5 separate regions of the Homo sapiens genome follow, and regions 1, 3, 4 and 5 are each linked to region 2. The links are contacts of gene promoters, found by promoter capture Hi-C in blood cells and fetal thymus (Javierre and others, 2016). All regions are on one chromosome and are shown on one strand. The core of a region is centred on a gene start or on the middle of the fragment in contact, and the rest is flanking DNA. Distances in the headings are between cores, read along the strand shown.

Evidence for each region. The method cuts DNA at HindIII sites, captures the fragments that hold promoters and counts their contacts. A CHiCAGO score of 5 or more calls a contact.
Region 1: a fragment that was not itself captured here is called in contact with the fragment with the promoter of SHB in region 2 in 3 of 17 cell types (monocytes, M0 macrophages and fetal thymus); the score reaches 6.4 in monocytes.
Region 3: a contact is called between a fragment that was not itself captured here and the fragment with the promoter of SHB in region 2, in 8 of 17 cell types (M0 macrophages, endothelial precursors, M1 macrophages and 5 more). The highest score is 12.9, in M0 macrophages.
Region 4: a contact is called between a fragment that was not itself captured here and the fragment with the promoter of SHB in region 2, in 5 of 17 cell types (M0 macrophages, monocytes, M2 macrophages and 2 more). The highest score is 9.6, in M0 macrophages.
Region 5: a contact is called between a fragment that was not itself captured here and the fragment with the promoter of SHB in region 2, in 1 of 17 cell types (endothelial precursors). The highest score is 5.5, in endothelial precursors.

Annotation. Positions count from the first base shown.
Region 1 is chr9:37,979,815-37,982,514 of GRCh38, reverse strand. The region is part of intron 2 of SHB (SH2 domain containing adaptor protein B); the gene reads left to right. Among named protein-coding and RNA genes, the nearest start is that of SLC25A51, 77 kb to the right of the region's middle. The HindIII fragment of the contact is 257 bases long and covers 1,134-1,390 here.
Region 2 is chr9:38,067,941-38,070,640 of GRCh38, reverse strand. SHB (SH2 domain containing adaptor protein B) reads left to right here and starts at 1,414. Exons shown (of 6, transcript NM_003028.3): 1 at 1,414-2,700. The coding sequence starts at 1,996. RefSeq lists silencers at 1,004-1,813, 2,234-2,283 and an enhancer at 2,174-2,700. The HindIII fragment of the contact is 5,108 bases long and covers 1-2,700 here.
Region 3 is chr9:37,947,403-37,950,102 of GRCh38, reverse strand. It overlaps SHB (SH2 domain containing adaptor protein B), which reads left to right. Exons shown (of 6, transcript NM_003028.3): 5 at 1,349-1,468. Among named protein-coding and RNA genes, the nearest start is that of SLC25A51, 45 kb to the right of the region's middle. The HindIII fragment of the contact is 577 bases long and covers 1,144-1,720 here.
Region 4 is chr9:37,997,534-38,000,233 of GRCh38, reverse strand. The region is part of intron 2 of SHB (SH2 domain containing adaptor protein B); the gene reads left to right. Among named protein-coding and RNA genes, the nearest start is that of SHB, 70 kb to the left of the region's middle. RefSeq lists an enhancer at 2,055-2,556. The HindIII fragment of the contact is 7,612 bases long and covers 1-2,700 here.
Region 5 is chr9:38,158,770-38,161,469 of GRCh38, reverse strand. No RefSeq gene overlaps it. Among named protein-coding and RNA genes, the nearest start is that of SHB, 91 kb to the right of the region's middle. The HindIII fragment of the contact is 4,001 bases long and covers 1-2,700 here.

The sequences.
Region 1 (2,700 bases), core at 13-2,512, 88 kb after region 2:
GGCCTACTTATCCATTTTTTTTGAGACGGAGTTTTGCTCTTTTGCCCCGGCTGGAGTAAAGTGGCGCAATCTCAGCTCACTGCAACCTCCGCCCCCTGGGTACAAGCAATTCTCCTGCCTCAGCCTTCCCAGTAGCTGGGATTATAGGTGCCCACCACCACACCCCTCTAATTTTTGTATTTTTAGTAGAGACGGGGTTTTACCATGTTGGCCAGGCTGGTCTCGAACTCCTGTCCTCAGGTGATCCACCCCCCTTGGCCTCCCAAAGCGCTAGGAGTACAGGCGTGAGCCACCACATCTGGCCCATCTTCTTTCAAAATACAGATTTTGAGACTCTCCATAATAAAATGTTTAGGCATACTTCATTTTATTGTGCATTGCTTCATTGTGGTTTGCAGGTATTGCATTTTTTTTTTTTTTACAAAATGAAGGTTTGTGGCAACCTTCCTTCAAGTAAGTCTATCAGCATCATTTTTCCAACAGCGTGTGCTCATTTTGTGTCTCTGTGTCACATTTTGGTAATTCTCATATTTCAAACCTTTTTATTATTATAGCTGTTACGGTGACCTGTGATCAGTGATCTTTGATGTTACTGTTGTAATTGTTTTGGGGCACCACAAACTGCACCCACAGAAGATGGCGAACTTAATAAATGTTATGTGTGTTCTGACTGCCCCACTGACTGACCATTCCTTCATCTCTTCCCCTCTCCTTGGGCCTCTCTATTCTGTAAAACACAACAATGTTGAAATCAGGCCTATTAATAATTCAACAATGGCCTCTACATGTTCAAAGGAAAGGGAGAGTCACACATCTCTCACTTTAAACCAAAATCTTGGAAATAAGCCTAGTGCAGAAGTCATGTCAAAAACCGAGATCTGCCAAAAGGTAGGCTTCTTGCACCGAATAGTTAGCCAGGTTGTGGATGTAAAGGAAAAGTTGAAGAAAATTAAAAGTGTCACTCCTGCGAATACACAATTGAAAAGAAAGCAAAACAGCCTTGTTGCTATTAGAGAGAGAGTTTGGTCTAGATAGAAGCTCAAACCAGCCACAAATTCCCTTAAATCAAAGCCTAATCTGGAGCAAGGCCCTAACTCTTCAATTCTGTGAAGGCTGAGAGAGTGGAGGAAGCTTCAGAAAAGCTAACAGAGGTTGATTTCTGAGGTTTAAGGAAAGAAGCCATTTCCATAACATGGAAGTGTGTGGTGAAGCAGCAAGTGCTGATGTAGAAACTGCAGCAAGTTATCCAGAAGATCTAGCTGAGGTCATCGATGAAGGTGGCTATGCAAAACAACAGATTTTCAGTGTAGACAAAGCAGCCTTCTATTGGAAGAAGATGCCATCTAGGACTTTCAGAGCCATAGGGAAGTCAATGCCTGGCTTCAAAGCTTCAAAGGACAGGCTGCCTCTCTTGTTAGGGACTAATGCAGCTGGTGATTGTAAGTTGAAGCCAGTGCTCATTTGCCATTCTGAAAAATCCTGGAGCCCTTAAGAATTATGCTAAATCTACCCTGCTCGTGCCCTGTGAATGGAACAACAAAGCCTGGATGGCAGTTCCTCTGTTTACAGCATGGTTTACTGAATATTTTAAGCCCACTTTTGAGACCAACTTTAAGGAAAAAAAGATTCCTTTAAAGATACTACTGCTGATTGACACTGTTCTTGGTCACCCAAGAGCTCAGCTGGGGATGTACGAGGAGATGAATGTTGTTTTCATGCCTGCTAACACAACATCCATTCCGCGGCCCATGGATCAAGGAGTAATCTCAACTTTGAAGTCTTATTATTTAAGAAATACATCTCATAAGGCTATAGCTGCCAGAGATAGTGATTCCTCTGATGGACCTGGGCAAAGTAAACTGAAAACCTTCTGGGGAAGATTTACTGTTCTAGAAGCCATTAAGTACATTTGTGATTCATGAAAGGGGTCAAAATAGCCACATTAACAGGAGTTTGGAAGAAGAGTCCAGTCCTCACAGATGACTTTGAGGCCTTCAAGACTTCAGTGGAGGAAGTAACTGCAAATATGATGAAAATAACAAGAGAACTAGCATTAGAAGTGGAGTCTGAAGATGTAACTGAATTGCAGGAATCTTATGATCAAACTTGAACAAATAAAGAGTTGCTTCTTATGGATGAGCAAAGACAGTTTTCTTGAGATAGAATCTATTCCTGATGAAGATGCTGGGAACATTGTTAAAATGACAACATAGGATTTAGAATAGTACATAAACTTAGTTGATGAAGCAGCAGCAGAGTTTGAAAAGATTGACTCCAATTTTGAAAGAAGTTCTGCCGTGGGTAAAATGTTATAAAACAGCCTTTCGCTAAGAGAAATCTTTCGTGAAAGGAAGAGTCAATCTATGTGGCAAATTTTATTGTCTCATTTTAAGAAATTCCCACAGCTGGGGGGAGGGGCATAAAAAATTTTCCACAGCCACCTCAGCCTTCAGGAACTACCACCCTGATCAGTCGGCAGCCGGCAACATCAAAGCAAGACCCTCCACCAGCAAAAAGATGACTCACTGAAGGCTTAGATGATTGTAAGCAGTTTTTGGCAATAAAATATTTTTAAAATTAAGGTTCTACATTTTTTTAAGGCAGTGGTATTGCACATTTAATAAACTACAGTATAATATAAATATAACTTTTGTGTGCATTGGAAAACCAAAAAATTTTACAGGTACCTGCCACCATGCC
Region 2 (2,700 bases), core at 165-2,664:
AGCTACTTCATCTTTAGGCAGCATTTCCCTCTCAACAGGGAGCATGCCACCTCCCCTGGGTGCAGATCCCAGGAAAAGTTACACTGACCAAATCAGGCCACTCCCTGGGACTGTTTCCTCAATTTTGGTTAATAATCAAAGGATGATCTGAAATCGCAAAGAAGAGACTCTTGGAAAAGACATAATTATGGTGCCACCCGACTTAGGAACTGGCATCCAAGTCCACCTGTGTGACTTTCCTCTGGGCCTCAGTTTCTCCATCTGTAAAATGAGGTCCTGTATTTATTTTTTGAGACGGAATCTCCCTCTGTCGCCCAGGCTGGAGTGAAGTGGTGTGATCTCGGCTCACTGCAACCTCTGCCTCCCAGGTTCAAGCAATTCTCTGCCTCAGCCTTCCGAGTAGCTGCTGGGATTACAGGTACCCGCCACCACACCCGGCTAATTTTTGTATTTTTAGTAGAGACGGGGTTTCACCATCTTGGCCAGGCTGGTATTAAACTCCTGACCTCGTGATCCACCCGCCTCGGCCTCCCAAAGTGCTGGGATTACAGGCGTGAGACACCGCACCCGGCCGAGGTCCTGTATTAAATGGATCCTTGCCAGCTCCTACAACATAAGGCATTAAATGTTCCCACAACTTGCTCCCCGCCGGCTGGCAGCGAACAGGGCTAAAGCCTCGACTTCCTCAGAGGTGAAAAGGTAAGCAAACATTCCGACCTCCCCTAGCCTTGCTCTCGGATTGGTGCTGGGCCCGGCTCCCACCGCCTATCCCGACCACATCCGTCATCTGGACTGCTAATACACTCATTAGCATAAAGATTCCTCCGAAGACCTGGCGCACGGGGCTGAACCGGAGTCTGTCCCTTTAAGGAAGAGGGACAGCCACTCTGTCCCTAAGGGCACTAGGCACTGCATTTCCTCCACACGGGCCACGCTGTAAACTAGACAGGTTCCGTGTTAATCCACTCTCCCTCCTCAACCCCGACAGGGGGATCCCTGGAGTGAACAACGCGCGGGGTCCCGGGGGACTGCGGAAAGGTTTGGCCTCTGCGCGTAGCAGGCTCCGCCAGGCAACCTCTCGCCCGAGGCGGCGGCGAGCTGCAAGCTAGGTGGAGCCGGCTGCGCGGCGGGACCCCAGCGCCCTGGGGCAAGACCCTGGTGCTGGCGCCAGGGCAGCCGCGGGAGGTGGCGTGTGCAGGAGCGGAGAGGTGCGCCCACCCCGGCCCCGGGCGCGAGGGGGGCGGGGCTTGGGCCGCGGCCCGGGGCCAGGCTCGCGGGGATGGGCGGTGCTGGGTCTGCGGGAGCGGGCGGGGGGCGGGGCGCGCGAGCGGGCTCCGGGGGGGCGGGGCGGCGGCGCGGGGCGGGCTCTGGCGGCCTGAGTGTCACACACGCGGCGGCTCGGGAGGCGGCGGCAGTGGCAGCGACAGGCGCCGCCGGGACGGGCACGGGCGCGCGGGCTCCGGCGGGCGCCGGCTGCCTTCCTCCGTCGCTCGCTGTCTCTCCCGGCCGCATTCTCCTCCGCTGCGGGGCCGAGCTCTCCCCAGCGCTCGCAGGAAGGAAGAAGGGAGCCGAGGACGCCGAGAAGTTCCCGCGGCAGCCGCGGATCCCGGCCAAGGCGGAGGCTGCGGCTCCGACGGGGCAGGAGCGCGATCCACGGCGAGGGGCGTACGGCCAAAGGGTCCGCGGCGTGGAGCGCTCGGACCTTCCGCTCTCCCCCGGGCGTGGGCCGGGACCCCATGAGACGCGCCCACGAGGGGCGCGAGATTCCTAGCTTGGGCGGCGCTAGGCGGAGGGAGGTGTTGCAGCCGCCGGAGCCAGAGAGCTGCCGGCAGGAGGCGGCGGCGGCAAGAACTTGAACTTGGCGTCGGGAGCGGGCGCCCCGGACGCCCCCCGCCGGGGCCGGGGCGCCGAGGGACCTGCGCCGCAGCGCTGCCCCCCGAATGGCCGCGGCGGCGGACCGGGCTCCCGCGCCGCGGCCCTAGGCGGCCTCTCGCCATGGCCAAGTGGCTAAACAAGTACTTCAGCTTGGGCAACAGCAAGACCAAGAGCCCCCCGCAGCCGCCGCGGCCAGACTACCGCGAGCAGCGGCGCCGAGGCGAGCGGCCTTCGCAGCCCCCCCAGGCCGTGCCGCAGGCCTCCTCCGCCGCCTCGGCGTCCTGCGGTCCGGCCACCGCCTCCTGCTTCTCAGCCTCTTCGGGCTCGCTGCCCGACGACAGCGGCAGCACCAGCGACCTCATCCGCGCCTACCGCGCGCAGAAGGAGCGAGACTTCGAGGACCCCTACAACGGGCCTGGCTCGTCGCTGCGCAAACTGCGCGCCATGTGCCGCCTGGACTACTGCGGCGGCAGCGGGGAGCCAGGCGGGGTCCAGCGCGCCTTCTCGGCCTCGTCCGCGTCGGGCGCCGCGGGCTGTTGCTGCGCCTCCTCGGGCGCGGGGGCCGCCGCGTCCTCGTCCTCGTCCTCCGGCTCTCCGCATCTCTACCGCAGCAGCAGCGAGCGGCGGCCCGCCACGCCGGCCGAGGTGCGCTACATCTCCCCCAAGCACCGCCTCATCAAAGTGGAGAGCGCCGCGGGCGGTGGGGCCGGGGACCCCCTGGGGGGCGCCTGCGCGGGCGGCCGCACCTGGAGCCCGACGGCCTGCGGAGGCAAGAAACTGCTCAACAAGTGCGCCGCCTCAGCCGCGGAGGAGAGCGGGGCCGGC
Region 3 (2,700 bases), core at 183-2,682, 120 kb after region 2:
GCCAGGTATGGTGGCACGCACCTGTAGTCCCAGCTACTCTGGAGGCTGGGGGTTGGGGGGATTGCTTGAGCCCTGGAGTTTGAGGCAGCAGTGAGCTATTATCGCGCCACGGCACTCCAGCCTGGGTGACGGGGTGAGACCCTGTCTCAAAAAAAAGAAAGAAAAGCATTGCTCCCATTTCCTCCTCTGATGGGAGATGAGGGATGAGTCGGGCCCTCTGCACGGCACTCCTCCCCTCAGATTCTGCCGCCTGCCCTCCTCTGGCATGCATGGCATCTGGGAGCAGTAATGCTGGGATTCCCACATGCCCAAGTGGTGCTAGAGCCGTCTGGCAGGAGCATGGACAGCTACCTCCCTGCCCACCATCCATGTCTGCACACATCCCTGAGTCAGAGCGTGGCCCTCCCATCAGCACCCTCTGATGGTTTCCATGTTGCTCAAACAGAGAAAAGCCCCTGCTGCAGCCCCATTTCGGGACGTCTTGCACACCCCTTCCCCTTGCTGCTTCTGTCCATGCTGGCCCCTAGCTGTTTCCAGAATACGCTAGGCAGCCTTCTGCCTTGGCCTTCGCTGCTGATTTGTCTACCAAGAAAGCTCCTCTCTGGCTTCCCTCCTTGCCTCCTGCAGGTCTGCACTGAAATGTCACTTTTTTTTTCTTTCTTCTTTTTTTTCCATTTTCTTTTTTCTTTTTCTTTTTTTTTTTTTTTTTTGAGATGGAGTCTTGCTGTGTCTTCCAGGCTGGAGTGCAGTGGCATGATCTTAACTCACTGCAACCTCCGCCTCCCAGGTTCAAGTGATTCTCCAGTCTCAGCCTCCTGAGTAGCTGGGATTACAGGCGCCCACCACCACGCCCGGCTAATTTTTGTATTTTTAGTAGAGATGGGGTTTCGCCATGTTGGCCAGGCTGGTTTTGAACTGACCTCAGGTGATCCAACTGCCTTGGCCTCCCAAAGCGCTGGGATTACAGGCGTGAGCCACCTCACCTTGAGAAGGCTTCCCTGGCCACCCTGCCTGAAATAGTCCCTCACCAGCCCCCAGCTCCATGAGCCTATGCCACTTCATCTCCATGATGCCTGTCCTCACACTGTGCTCTGTGATGACTTGAGTGTCTGTGGCCTGACTCCCTGCACCAGAGCATAAGCTTCCCGTGAAAAGAGACTGGGTTTTGTTCACTGTGCTCTCCCCAGGACCCGGCAGCAGCAGGCGGGCAGTGGGTACCCATGGAATGAACCAGTGCATGCCTGCTTGTACAGGGAGGCTCTCTGCGGGTGCTGAGTCTCCCAAGGCAGGTCAGGGCCATGGGAATCCCATCGCGCTGGGCTCTGACCACTCTCTGCCCTCTCCACAGATGGTATCACGGAGCCATCAGCAGAGGAGACGCCGAGAACCTGCTGCGACTCTGCAAGGAGTGTAGCTACCTTGTCCGGAACAGCCAGACCAGCAAGCATGACTACTCCCTCTCCCTGAGGTGAGTGCCGCCCCGAGCACCCCCAGCCCTCCTCGGCAGCCTCTGCGAGCGCAGCCGGCCACCGTGTCTGTGGCAGAAAAACCCGCCAGTGTCCCCTGGGAAACTTGCCAGCACACGTTATTTTAGGCCTGGGTTTTTCAATTTGATCCTATTCTCCTGGGATACAGAGGAGTTTTTATGTTCACTGTTGCTGCCCTTCCAGAAGATGAGGGGCCTTTTTCTAGGATTTTGTATTAACTATCCAAGAAAGCTTTCACATCTGCTGTGAGCCGGGGTGGTACGAAGTTCCTAGCATGCCTCATCCTGCTCTCAAAGCCCACGACGATGGTCCTTTGATTTTTTTGAGGAACATATCGTCGCCAATTTGCAGATGAGTAAACAGGTTCACGGAGGTGGGTGTGGCTGGCCCAAGTGGCTGGGCCAGGACTTGTGACCAGCCCATGACTCTCTGCCACTGTGAGCATGACCTAGCTCTGGCTTGCGGTTTGTGTGGGCCTGAGTTTGGGTGTTGCACAAAGTCTAGGAGGAGCACTGGGAAGAGGTGGTGTTACTGCCTATCGCAGCTTTGGAAACTTTCAGGTCTTTCTGACCTGTGAGGCATTTCTGTCAGGATGGGCAGGCCCAGAAATAAGAAAAGCATGTTTTAGTTGGGTGCTATTGCTGGACGGGACCCAAAAGAATGCCTAAACCCATTTTACAGAAAAACTGAGGTCCAGAAAAAGAAGGGATTTGCCAAGGACATATAGAGAGCTGGTGACATAACTGGGGTGTAAACCCAGGCTCTTCAGCCAGCACAGATCCCCCAGAAGCAGTGAATCCCTCTGCCTGGCATCCTCTCTGTCCCACTTACCGCTGTTAGAGGCCATGGGAGGGAGAGCCGGCCTGCAGGGACACGGTTGTCAGGAGAGCTCACACACATGCCGGCCCTGTAGACAGAGGCTTCAGTAAAACCAAGGAAGGTGAAACTGGCCTGTGTTCTCTGCTCACGACTGACCCCTCCCCCCACAACTTCTGGGCTTTGCCCTGAGAGAGACAGTGACAAACTGCAGAGTCAGGAGGGCGGCAGGCATGGGCAGAGGCAGGTAGGGCAAGGCACACAGGCTGTGGGAGTCCACCTAGAGAAGAGAGAGCATGTGGACACGGGGTGGGGACCATGCATCTCTCAAGGACTGTCAGGGCAGAGGGAGCTGATGTACAGACAGGGGACTTGTGGGCAGACAATGCATAGACAG
Region 4 (2,700 bases), core at 69-2,568, 70 kb after region 2:
CAGTTGTTCAAGCTGTGGTCTGGCCTGGCCTGGTCTGCCAGCAGCAGCAATTCTCGCTGACTTCTCGCTCCCTCTCTTTTCTCTCTCCACTGCCTGTGGGAGGGATGGACATCCGTTCTGTTGTCTCCTTGAAGCTACCTGTGCAAGTCCTGAGGACCCAGCCCTGGGCCTGTGGAAAGGAATGGAAACCACCCACTCAGGTGTGGTGCCCCAGCCTCGTGGCTCTTCTTGTCAGCCTTCACAAAGCTGTGATTCATACTGGAATCTTGTAAATCTCTGAATGGCCAAATAGAACAGGGCTGGGGGTAGAGGGCATGGGGTGACTAGTGGAGAGAGTCATGAGCTGGAGGCTGCAGGAGTGAATTGCAGCTCCTCCGACAGCCGGTTTGAGCTTGGACAAGGCATGCCTCAGTTTCTCCATCTCTGAAGTCAAGGCTTCAGCCAGATCCTAAGGTGACTTTAGTGCTAACCTGTCCTGGTAGTGGTGGCAGTCACACAAAGACACGCTGGATGCACACAGGGACACAATCTCCCAGAACACAGAAGCCTCCCACGTGCTGCTGGTGGTTGGGCTGCTGCCTCGGCTGCCTTTGTTTGTCCCCAGTCTCTGTCAGACCTCCACTCAGTATGCGGCGCTTGGTGTCTGCAGCTTCCACTCAGCACTCCAGAAACCTGTTTGTGAGCTCAAGTCACACTAGCCTCCCTAGGGGATATCTTTCCACAGAAGCCTACTTTCGAATTGGGCCTAATTGTAGCATATATACCTTTAAATAATTTTTTTTAGTGTATTTGAAACAGCTGTCATTTTGCATGTGCATCAGCTGAATAAAGTGGAGCAGCCATTTGAGCTCCTGGTCACCCCGAGTCTGCAGCAGGCTTCCTTCACCCCTTGCAGGAGAGAGACCTCAGGGAGGAGAGAAGCTAGGAGGTTTGAGAACAGAGTGAGATCAGCTCGCCTGCTAGTCTCAGCCTTTCACAGATCCCTCCTCACTGTCCCCTGATGAGTTTCCCAGGCCTGGCTAGATCATGTTACTTTCCTGCTCAGAGATCTCCACTGGGTTCCTCAGATCTGAGCCCAGACTTTCCAGGCCTTCCTCAAATCCCACACCCTATAGGGTTCCCAGGGTCCAGCAGCACCCCATCACCCACTTGCTTTCCTGTGTAAACGCTCACTGTCCTCCTCACTGAGGGGCTCCCCAGGGCTCTGTGATCCCGCAGGGACTTCCTCCCTCTTGTTCTGCCTTGCTCTTGAGTTCCTCCAGCAGCCTGGGCAGGGCCTGAGTGACTCACAGTGGGTTCCCCAGAGCCTAGCACAGAGCTTGGCTCTTGGGAAGAGCTGGTTGAAACTGGATGAAAAATGGGCCTTTCCTCTGCTTCCATCTCATCCTTGCCTTTGAAGTCAGTTTAATGGCTGCAAACATATTAATCATTTGGATTTCCTGTTTGTCCCTGAAAAATAAGCATTCAAAATAGGATTTCGAGGACAGGCAGGGCAGCTCACACCTGTAATCCTAGCACTTTGGGAGGCCGAGGAGGGTGCATAGCTTGAGCTCAAGAGTTTGAGGCTAACCTAGGCAACATGGTGAAACCCCGTCTCTACTAAAAATTCAAAAATTAGCTGGGCGTGGTGGCGTGTGCCTGTAGTCTCAGCTATTCGGGAGGCTGAGGCAGGAGGATTGCTTGAGCCCAGGAGGTGGAGGTTGCAGTGAACTGAGACCGTGCCACGGCACTCCAGCCTAGGTGACAGAGCCAGACCCTGTCTTTAAATAAATAAACAAAATAGGATTTTGAGACCATCAGAACATGTGCTTTCCTGGATTTGAAAACAGGCGATGCAGAGACCATGTATCTGGCCCTGAGGGTGGTGGGGGAGGTTGTGAGTCTCTGGGGCGCCTGCAGTTCTGGGAAGTTTACCGTTTATGGAGTCCTTGGTGGTCAGGAAGCCCAGGCCAGCAGGATAGCGGTCCAGCTCAGTACTGTGTTGGGGCCCTGGCCCTAGTGCTTCCCTCCCTCCTCCCTCCTCCCTCCAAGCTGCCTGCTCCCGGCCACTGGTGCCTTGGAATCGTAACTCAGAGCTCAGAGCAACAGGAATGCTGTAAATCCCCGTCGCGCTCCCCTTTACAAGCAGGCAGTTGGGCACGGCGGCACTTTACAAGAGAAAGCAGCTCCACCACAGCAGAATGCAGCAAGTGCCTGTCACACGGGCTGTCCTGCCACTGCCTCTGCTTGCTCGGTTGGACACAGTGGGTACCACAAGCCAGGAAGAAGCATCACTCTTGTTCATCCCCATCCCATCCCAGGGCCCTCTGCCCCTTAGCAGGGTCTCCTCCTGGGCCTCAGGCCCCCAGGGCCTTGTTGTCCTTTCTGCCACTTGCCCTTGTCACACAGTGAGAAGCTGCTGTCGCCCTGGACAGCTGTTGTTTGATAAGCTGGCCATCTGCCCTGGGGTGATGGAGCAGAGTGCCTCGGCCTCCGTGTCTCTGTGATGTGAGAGGTACAGGGTTCCAGTCCTGAGGTGGTGGAGCTGGACAGCCCAGAAGGCCAACCACAAAGATGAGATAACTTGGGGTAGCAGTACTTTAGGAGTTTTGCCCACTCTGCAGTCATTTTGTACCCTCCTGTGCCAGCTTCTACACTGGGCGTCCAGAGATTGACATAAATGAGATCCAAGCCCCAGTGGATGTGGACTCAGGTCTGACA
Region 5 (2,700 bases), core at 38-2,537, 91 kb before region 2:
CTGGAAAGGGATATATTAAAAGTTGTATCAGTGTCAGCGATGTGATATGAGTGATTATTTCCTCTATGCCCTTACTTGCATTGCTTTTCTTAAAATAAAATTCTGATTGAGGAGATGAGCCATAGACCAAACAACAGTGATGCTAAGTGAACACTGCTTGTTGCCCAGAGAGAGGGTAGATATGGAGCTGGGGAACTCAAGAGAAGGATATCTTTATTACCTCCAGCTGGAGAGATCAGAAAAAAATGACGAAGGAAGCAGCATTTGAAATGGGGTTTCAGCAACAGGAAGGACTTGAACAGGGAGCAAAGTGTGCCAGGTGGGAAAGAAAATTGAGATTGAGAGAAAAGGATAAATGGGCGTGGAAGAGCACCACATTTAGGGAAGGAGGAGACATTCCCTGTGGCAAGAGCAGAGGGTACAAAGTGGAGATCAGTAAGAAATCAGGCCACATTGCAGAGGTTTTAAGCTGGCGACCTTCAGGCCACATTGGCCCAGTTTTTTTTACTCACTGGTGGGGTGATCACATATTTCTAAATTAGGTGCTATGGCTCTCATCTCTAACCCTATCCCCTCTAAATTTGCCTTTTATGATGACAGCTGGGACACTAATATTCTGCTTGGCCTGCTGACGATCTCTTAGCCTCTGCCAACAGGGGGCGCTAGAGAGAGATCACAAGGTGGAAGAGCCAGGGAACCACACAATGAAGGTGGGAGCCCTTCCTGATCTGGCTTTAACTTGTAAGGTTCGATACGCACACGTCATATGATCCAGCAACCCCACTCCTAGGTATGTCTTTGAGAATCTCTTCCATGCGCCCTGGGAGGCATGACCAAGAATGTTCATAGTAGCGTTTCATGATAGCAAAATACTAGAAGCAAACCAAATGCCTAATAGCAAAAGAATAGATAATACGTGGTGTTTTACACAGTGAGATATTACACAGCAGGGAAAATGAATGAACTAAGCTACAGGCATCAACATGGATGAATTTTAGAAACAACGTTAGGTGAAAAAAAGTAATTTACAGAAGACTGTGAATATTTTATTGTAATATCAAACAGTATGATTTTTTTATAAAGTTCAAATGCAAATAAAAGTAAATAATATATGGCTTTGGAATATGAATATATGTGCTAAAACTATCACAAAACAGCCAGGAAATCATAAACACCAAAGCCTGGGTTGTGGTCATTTGTAGGGGAGGTGAGGGCTAGAATAAGAAAGAGGTACCCAGACACATGCAAGAGTACCAGGAAAGTTCTAGTTCCAAAAGTGGATGGTGAGCTCATGGGTGCTAATTTTACTATCATGTTTTGCAATGAATATATGCATTACAAATATTGTTCTATATATATATAAAACATTTCCTAATAGACATCTTGAAAAATTCAATCATAAAATAGCTTGTGACCAAGAAATGGTGTTTTCAGGAGGATCCTGTGGGCTCTGCCCACAAATGTACTGGTGGCTGAGGTCTGGGTGAGGATGGAGGTGCTGGGTTGGACTCTGGCCAGCACCATGTCCAGGTATCCCACCTGTTTGCTGCATCCCCAGGCACAGCCACCCTTGAGAGGAGTCAGGAGAGCCTTGACCTGGACATCTGGACCAGCTTCCAGTTCCACGTCTAGCTTACCGAGTGACCTTGATCAAGCTCCCTCACCTCAGTTTTCCCATTTGTACAATGGGAGAGTAGGGAACAGGTGATTACTCAAAGCCTTCATTCTGGTGTTATCGAGTGGCCCAGGTGCCTTGATGGAAAAGATGAGTTAGGAGCTTGATGGTCCTGCTGTCACCAGCTGGGGGACTTTGGGCCTTTTAAGAAGCAGCTTAACTTCTCTCTGCTTAGTTTCCTCATTTGTTAAATGGGGATGGATCAGGTATCTGCCTCATAGGATTATTGTGAGAATGAAATAAAATAATACTTGTAAAGCATCTAGCATAGAGTCTGGAAGAGAAAGCCCCCAGTAGACAGCAGCCATTGTGTGGACGACCAGGCAGCCTGAGTGGCCACACCCTGCTGTGGAAGTGTCCTCCCAAGGGCCACACTCCAGGAGGTGCACCTGGCCCATGTCAGGCCAGGCCTTTTCCCGCTTTCATCATCACTGGCTCCCCCAGTGCTGTCAGGATTAGCTCATTAGTGTGACATTCAGGGCCCCTGCCACCTCTTGCCAACCTCCCTCCCAGCCTTCCTATGGTGCATCCTTCCTTCCTGGTGCATCTGATGGTGTCTGAGTCTAGTCTGATGCCCCGGGGTAGATTCCCACTCCACTTCAAACCAAGGGTGTTAATCCTGTTCACCCCACTCATCAGTAACAGGCCTGAGGCTTACTCCACAGCTCCGGGGATGCAAGGACCATTGCACACTTTCCATAATAAAACCAGTTTGCCCACCCATGTCCATGGTCGACAAGCAGTCCCTCCACCTCCCTTATATGTTACAGAAAGCCCCCAGGCTTACACAGTCCAGTTCTCAGGGCCACTGTCCCTTGTGGTCATGGCTGCCCCGCTTCTTGCTCAGACCCCTGGGGGCCATCCAAACGCAGTTCATTGTGCTGGTCATCCTACTCCTCCTTCTCCACCATGCAAGGCCATGGGGGTCCCTGCTGAGGCTCTTGGGGCTCCCAGGCTCCCATACAGCCCCCTACTGACCCAAGGAACCATATTGCTATGAGGCTCAGGCCCCTCCACCCTCTTAG